Linked DNA regions of Homo sapiens: region 2 is linked to region 1. The links are contacts of gene promoters, found by promoter capture Hi-C in blood cells and fetal thymus (Javierre and others, 2016). All regions are on one chromosome and are shown on one strand. The core of a region is centred on a gene start or on the middle of the fragment in contact, and the rest is flanking DNA. Distances in the headings are between cores, read along the strand shown. Region 1 holds the start of MCM9 (minichromosome maintenance 9 homologous recombination repair factor). Region 2 has its middle 27 kb from the start of FAM184A.

Region 1 (3,738 bases), core at 6-2,505:
AAGAACAACTGAAAATTTAAAATGTCATTTACATAATATCAAGAAGTATATTTTTCCCCCATCCTTAGATTTATGGATAAATCTGACATAGGGTGATATGGTTTGGCTGTGTCCCTGCCCAAACCTCATCTTGAACTGTAGTTACCATAATCCCCAGGTGTTGTGGGAGGGACCCGGTGGGAGGTAACTGAATCATGGGGGTGGTTATTCCCATGCTGTTCTCTGATAGTGAGTGAGGTATCACAAGATCTGATGGTTTTCTAAGGGGCTTTTCCCTCCTTGCTCCTCACTTCTCCTTCCTGCAGCCCTGTGAAGAAGGAGGTTTGCTCCCGCTTCTGCCATGATTTTAAGTTTCCTGAAGTCTCCCCAGCCATGCTGAACTGTAAGTCAATTAAACGTCTTTCCTTTATAAATTACTCAGTCCCAGGTATGTCTTTATTAGCACTGTGAAAATGGACTATATAAGACTAGACCTGACAAAAGATCAAAACATTTGCTGAGTGAAATAACACCTAAATAAATGAAGAGGCTTACTTTAAGGGTCATTACTAAATATTGTTAACATGTAAATTATTCTTACATGGATCTATAGACGAAATGTAACCAATCACAATCCCAACTTTTTAAAGTGACAAGCTGATTTTAACATTCATATGAAAACCCAAGGGACTAGATGAGCCAGAACATTTTTGAAAAATAACAAAAAATTGGAGGCCAAACACGATCTGATTTTAAGACTCTTACGAATCTACAGGAATCAAGACAATGTGGTATTTTTGTAGAGAGAAATATAATAAATTGTCGGAACAGAATAGAAAGTCTAAGAATAGACCCACAACTGATGCTTTAGGGACAACTGATTTTAAACATAGGTGCAAAAGCTATTCAGTGAGAAAAAGAAAGCTCTCTAAACAAATGACACTATTCACATACAAAAAAATGACCTAAGATCCATACTTTGCACCACAGACAAAAATTAGCTCTAATTGGATCACAGACCTCAATATAAAACCTAAAATTCTAAAACTTGTGTCAGAAAACACAGAAGAGATCCTCTGTGGCCTTGGGTTAGGCAAATTCCTTGGACAGACAAAAAACAAACCCTAAGATCCGATCTGAGCCGCCGCACAACCCTGCTCTGGCCACTTAGCCTGAGGTCACTGCTCGGGTCCCGCCCCTCTCCCCGCCCGGGACCCTCCTGGCTCCGCCCCAATCCGCCCGCTCCGCTCCACCCCGCCCCGCTGCCTCGTCTCCATCCGGAAGAGCCGCCGGGGCAGGGAAGTTGAGGCGGTGCGCGGCCCGGCGTCGGTCGAGAGCGCAGGCCCGGCAGAGCCGCAGGCGCTAGGCCGCCCGACACAGCCCGCGCGTCCCCGCGGCCGGTGGCGCCTCGAGCGGCCACGTGCACGCGCGCACTCCGCCTCACCAGCCTTCTTGCGCCGGAGACGAACCCGCTGCCTGGCTGGAGCTCTCTGGGCCCTTCGGCCTCGGGAGCAACGCGTTCCCGGCGACTTCTGACACAGCCAGTAAGTGATAGCCGCCTCCTCCTTTCGCGGTTATGTTTTTCTCCAGTTCGTCCCAAGTCTCGTTCCCGTCTCATTACTTCAAAAACTATTCAACTCCGGGACCGGACAGGCACGGGAGCTGCCCGGGAGAAGAGCCCCAGAAGTCTCAGAGACTGCCAAGGTGTTGTGGGGCAGGGGCTGCGTGCAAAGACCCTGTGAATTAGAAAGTTTGGAAAGCATGCCTCCAAAACCGAGCGACTCCACGTTTGCCAGGCGCCCCTGGGGCAGCCGAGCGGCCCGGAGGCGCGAAATGGCGCGCCCCCGCAGTGAGAGGGGCGGAGGGAGTGGGGCGGGGCCGAGGGCGCGCGTCCCGCCAGCCCGCGCGGAGGGGGCGGGGCTCCCGGCAGGTGCAGGCGGGCGGGGCGGGGCTGCCGCGATTCCCGGAGACAGCTGGGGGATGCCAGTGCAGTTAGGCACTCTCCTGTCTTCTTTTCGACGCTTCGCTGTGGTCAAGAGGACAAAGTAAAGCAAATGATTTTATTTTGACCCCAAATATTCAATAAGAAAAGGAAAGAGAACTTGAAAGTTGTGAAATGACCCTTCTCAAAACAAAAAGTCCCTCCAGTGTCTATCTGGGTGGGTAGTAGGTACGTTTATTGATTTAGCAAACTGCTGATAACACAGTTGATTAGTCAGTTTTGCATAGATGTTGAAAGGGAATGAATAACGATGGTCCATATAACCATAGAAATGCTAGCCTAACTAGGCAAAATTTAATCTGACCTTAATTTGAACGTTGAATTCTGCTGCTGCCCTTTTCCTGCCTTGTGTGGAGCTGTTTTTCAAATTGCTAAATTTGTGGCTCTAAACTTAATATGCTTTAATAGAATCATAGTGATTCTCTTGTAGCCACTGTTGGGAGTCCAGATTTTTTTTTTTTTTTTTTTGGGCAAAGTCCACATTGTGGAGATATTCCTTCCCAAGTGCTTTTTCTGCTTTACACTTGGCTGAATTTATATTGCTTAACCAAAAACAAATTACCGTGGAGGCCGTAATTTATTTCCACTCATTGTTTTGGATATACATTTACTCATTCTTACTCTCACTCTGGCCTCCTATAGTGGTCAGGATTCTTGACCTAACTGCTATATGTACTTCTTAAACGTTTCACACCTTGCGGAATAGTAGGTTCTCAGAGAAAGCAAAATATAGCAAATAGCGTGTATAACACGTACTTAGGATGATAAACTGTGAACTTTATAGCAGTCTCCTTTAATATTCGTATTTGTAGAGTCCAGTACAATAAATGTTGGACAAATGAAGTAAGTCAAATTTAAGTACACCTCTTCTCCAGTCCTCAATCTCTTTCCAAACGAAATAAGTGTTTCTCTCTTTTTTTTTTTTTTTGAGGCGGAGTCTCGCTCTGTGCCCGGGCTGGAGTGCAGTGGCGTGGTCTCGGCTCACTGCAAGCTCCGCCTCCCGGGTTCACGCCATTCTCCTGCCTCAGCCTCCTGAGTAGCTGGGACTTCAGGCACCTGCCACCACGCCCAGCTAATTTTTTTTGTATTTTTTTTTAGTAGAGAACGGGATTTCACCGTGTTAGCCAGGATGGTCTCGATCTCCTGACCTCGTGATCCACCTGCCTCGGCCTCCCAAAGTGCTGGGATTACAGGCGTGAGCCACTGCGCCCGGCCCCAAATAAGTGTTTCTTATTTGGACAGCTGGTTTCTAACTGTCCAGTGCTACTTCTGAGATCGTCACCTCATTTAAATTTAACCTCCCTCTCCTTTGACTCCTATTCATATTGCATTTTTGACCACTGGTAGTGCACTGTTTCGTTTTATTTGCCCCTTGGATTTCTGAGGACATAGAGAACCTTTTACTATACTTTTCATTTGCCAGCATAGTGCCTTGTACATGATAGATATTAGGAAATGGACATTGAATTGGGTTTATACATATGTAATTTGTTATCCGTCTGTATACATGAAACTAGAATGGGGATAGGTGCTTTTTATCTGTAGATACATACTTTTTAATAGAGTGCCAGGGGAATGAGATAAAGTAATGGTATATGCTGTATTTATTTTCAATAATACTTTTTTATTATTTGAAGACTCAGTGTTTTTTCACCTTCCTATGTTTATCTGTTTTCTTTGCATTGTTGACAGCTGTTTCTGCAGAACCCAGTAGATTTCCTACGGTAAGAAAGAGAAAGAAGGAAACAAATTCACTT
Region 2 (3,571 bases), core at 20-2,519, 170 kb before region 1:
TTGCCCAGCAACAGCATCTCCAACAATGAACTGACAATAACTCTGGCTTTGAAACTTGAGGACCAATGAACTCTGAACTCTGTTCTTTTCTTTCTTTTTTTTTTTTTTTTTTGAGACAAAGTCTCACTCTGTCACCCAGGCTGGAGTGCAGTGGCGAGATCTCGGTTCACTGCAACTTCCTCCTCCCAGGTTCAAGCAATTCTCCTGCCTCAGCCTCCCGAGTAGCTGGAATTACAGGTGCATGCCACCATGCCCAGCTAATTTATTTTGTTTTGTTTAGGTTTTTTATTAGAGACAAATTATTTTCACTACATTGGCCAGGCTGGTCTCGAACTCCTGACTTCAGGTGATCCGCCCACCTTGGCCTCCCAAAGTGCTGGGATTGCAGGCATGAGCCACTGTGCCCAGCCGAATGAACTCTGCTTCTAAGCAGTTTATGTAAGACTCTTTTTTGCTAATAAAAGCTCCTCTTACCCTTCCCTCACCAAATAAATGCACTGGTAGCTTGCCATTCCATGCACTCCAAATTATAATCTTTACTTCTATTCCTGAGTAAATCCATCATATTTAGAGATAATTTTTTCTAGTGTCTTTTTTTTCAGAATAACATTGATAATATTAGTAAACATAAGTATTTTAAAACTTAAGAATCCCATGACAACCTAAGAAAGGTGTATGAACATAAGTTTCCATGAGACAGATGATTGGCTTTGGCAGACTGAAATCATGTAGAAACTATTTTCATATGCAGCTTATACATTTAATGTTTACTACACATTAAGTGGTATTTCTCACTAACAATTCCATATTACAATTTCAGGATAATAGATTTATCCCAAATTTTGATATTCCCTTGAGAGCTGTGAAAGTAATATATGGCCTACAAAAACATTTCAGGAAATGAGTAACTTGGATAAATTAGTGCAACAAATGTTTATGGCTTTTTCTCATTTTTGGAAAAAGTTACTCCTAATTACCAATCTCTGTCTTCTTCCAGAACCTTTCCCATTCACCGTAACTTACCAGATTTTTTTCAGTGAATATCTGTATTTACAAAGAACTTTTTGTAGTGTGAAATAAACCTTACCTCCCAAACAGTTTTCATGCCTTATTACTTTACTTTGTTACAACATCTTTGTGCCACATAAGATAATTACAATTAGTCCTTTTTAGAGATGAGAAAACTGAGGCACAAAAAGATTAAGTAATTTACCGAAGCCCTTCCAGTTAATTAGTTTCAAAACTAAAGTTAGAGCCAACCAATTAAGTAGTTATACTGAGTTTACTCTGAATAATTCATATGACCTCTAGTTATAAAAGTTAAACTAATAGCCTGATGGCATAGCCAGTAGTTGGCTTACTTTTCAAAATCATAAGACTGTGAAAGCAGATGAGAAGACGAAAGGTCCCACTCTGAGTAATAGCCATACAAATGATCATTTAATACATTCTCTTTTTAAATATGTCAGTTTGGTTTTTTGTTTGTTTGTTTGTTTTGAGACGGAGTCTCGCTCTGTCGCCCACCCTGGAGTGCAGTGGCACAATCTCATCTCACTGCAAGCTCCGCCTTCCTGGGTTCAAGCCATTCTCCCGTCTCAGCCTCCTGAGTAGCTGGGGCTACAGGCGCGCACCACCACGCCCGGCTAATTTTTTGTATTTTTAGTAGAGACGGGATTTCACCGTGTTAGCCAGGATGGTCTCGATCTCCTGACCTTGTGATCCGCCCGCCTCGGCCTCCCAAAATGCTGGGATTACAGGCATGAGCCACTGCGCCCGGCATCAGTTTGGTTTTTTTAATAGCATTTCTTTTCCTAGCAGTATCCAATTCACGAATGACAATTTTTAAAAAGCATGCCAAAAATCTGAGACAATTATGTGACCTTAAACAGTGATGTGGTTTGTTTAAATATGGAGCTGGTAATTTACTGAGATTCAGCTGTTCATGACTGATATCTTCACGTTAGTTATACATACTTAATTAATTAAAATTAATGTTTGCCAACTAACTATGCATCTGGGCAATAAATGTGCTTGATATTTGCTGTCAAAGTACAGATTATAATAAATTTCTGCAATGCGTATGGTTTTCTAAATGTATTTCTATTATTGAAAGGGCAAGACCAGCTTTGTATTAGATGAAAATTATTGGGAAAATGGGAGACATAGCTCAAAACTGAAGGTACCTGTTTGCAGCCCATATATTCTTTAAATAAACTTTTTTTAGAACAATTTTAGATTTACAGAAAAATTGTGAGGGTAGTTGTATTAGTCCGTTTTCACACTGCTGTAAAGAACCACGTGAGACTGAGTAATTTATGAAGAAAAGAGGTTTAATTGACTCACAGTTCTGCAGGCTTAATAGGAAACATGACTGGGAAGCCTCAGGAAACTGAATCATGGTGGAAGGCAAAGGGGAAGCAAGCAGGTCTTACCATGGTGGAGCAGGAGAGACAGCGAGTGAGGGGGGAAATGCCACACACTTTTAAACCATCAGATCTCAGGAGAACTCACTCACTATCCCGAGAACAGCAGAGGGGAAATCCACCCCCATGTTTCAATCACCTCCAACCAGGCCCCTCCTCCAACACGTGGGGATTACAATTCAAGATGAAATTTGGGTGAGGACACAGAGCCAAACCATATCAATAGTACAGAAAGTTCCTATATATTCCACACCCAGATTCCCCTGTTGTTAACATTTTATATTAGTATGACACACTATTATTAACTAAAGTCCACATTTTATCCCATTTTCCTAAATTTTTACCTACTATCCTTTTTCTGTTCCAGGATCCCATATAGGATACCATATTACATTTAGTCATCGTATCTCTTAGGCTCTCCTTGGCTTTGATGGCCTCAACAGTTTTGAGTAGTACTGGCCAGTGTTTTATAGAATGTTCCTCTACTGAAATTTACCTTATGTTTTTCTCATAATTAGACTGGACTTAGGGGTTTTGATAGTGAAGATCACAGAAATCAACTGCTATTTTCATCACATCAGATCAAGGGCACATGCTATCAAAATGACTTATCACTATTGACGTTGACCTTGATCACCTAGTTGAGGTAGTATTGGGTAGTAGCTTTCTGCACTCTAAAGTTACAGTTTTTCGCGCGTTTTATAGGGCTTTTTGGAAAGAAGTCTCTATTTGCAGTCCACACTTAAGGAGTGAAGAGCCATTTAATTTTATATGTAAATAAAATGTAATTTATAATTTTGAAAGCATGCACCATTTAAAAAAATGTAATCATCAAAGTCTTGGTAAGTTGTGGCATCTTGACACTTTACACACTTAAGATCATATTCTTAGAATCTTTGTAGGGACATCTTCTGTGTGATACTATTTGCGTGATACCACTTTGGACACATTTTCCCAGGTTCTCAGATTATTTCTCTGACAAGCTTTTATTATCAGGCACTATGGTGGACCCTGGGAATGCAAACCTGAGACATTATCCTTGCCCTCAAGAGGTTTAAGTTCTCATTTTAGAGATTCCACATTCTAAAAGCCAATACTTTCCTCGTTTTTCTTGCGGTGGCATTTGGAATATTTTCAAACATCTTTTT

What was found. The method cuts DNA at HindIII sites, captures the fragments that hold promoters and counts their contacts. A CHiCAGO score of 5 or more calls a contact.
Region 2: a contact is called between a fragment that was not itself captured here and the fragment with the promoter of MCM9 in region 1, in 1 of 17 cell types (activated CD4 T cells). The highest score is 5.5, in activated CD4 T cells.

The regions. Positions count from the first base shown.
Region 1 is chr6:118,932,676-118,936,413 of GRCh38, reverse strand. It overlaps MCM9 (minichromosome maintenance 9 homologous recombination repair factor), which reads left to right and starts at 1,255. Exons shown (of 14, transcript NM_017696.3): 1 at 1,255-1,523; 2 at 3,674-3,738. LOC124901389 (a long non-coding RNA gene) reads right to left here and starts at 1,499. Exons shown (of 2, transcript XR_007059729.1): 1 at 1,424-1,499. RefSeq lists silencers at 1,077-1,506, 1,757-2,006. The HindIII fragment of the contact is 20,540 bases long and covers 1-3,738 here.
Region 2 is chr6:119,104,319-119,107,889 of GRCh38, reverse strand. It overlaps a transcript of FAM184A not described here. Among named protein-coding and RNA genes, the nearest start is that of FAM184A, 27 kb to the right of the region's middle. The HindIII fragment of the contact is 4,278 bases long and covers 1-3,408 here.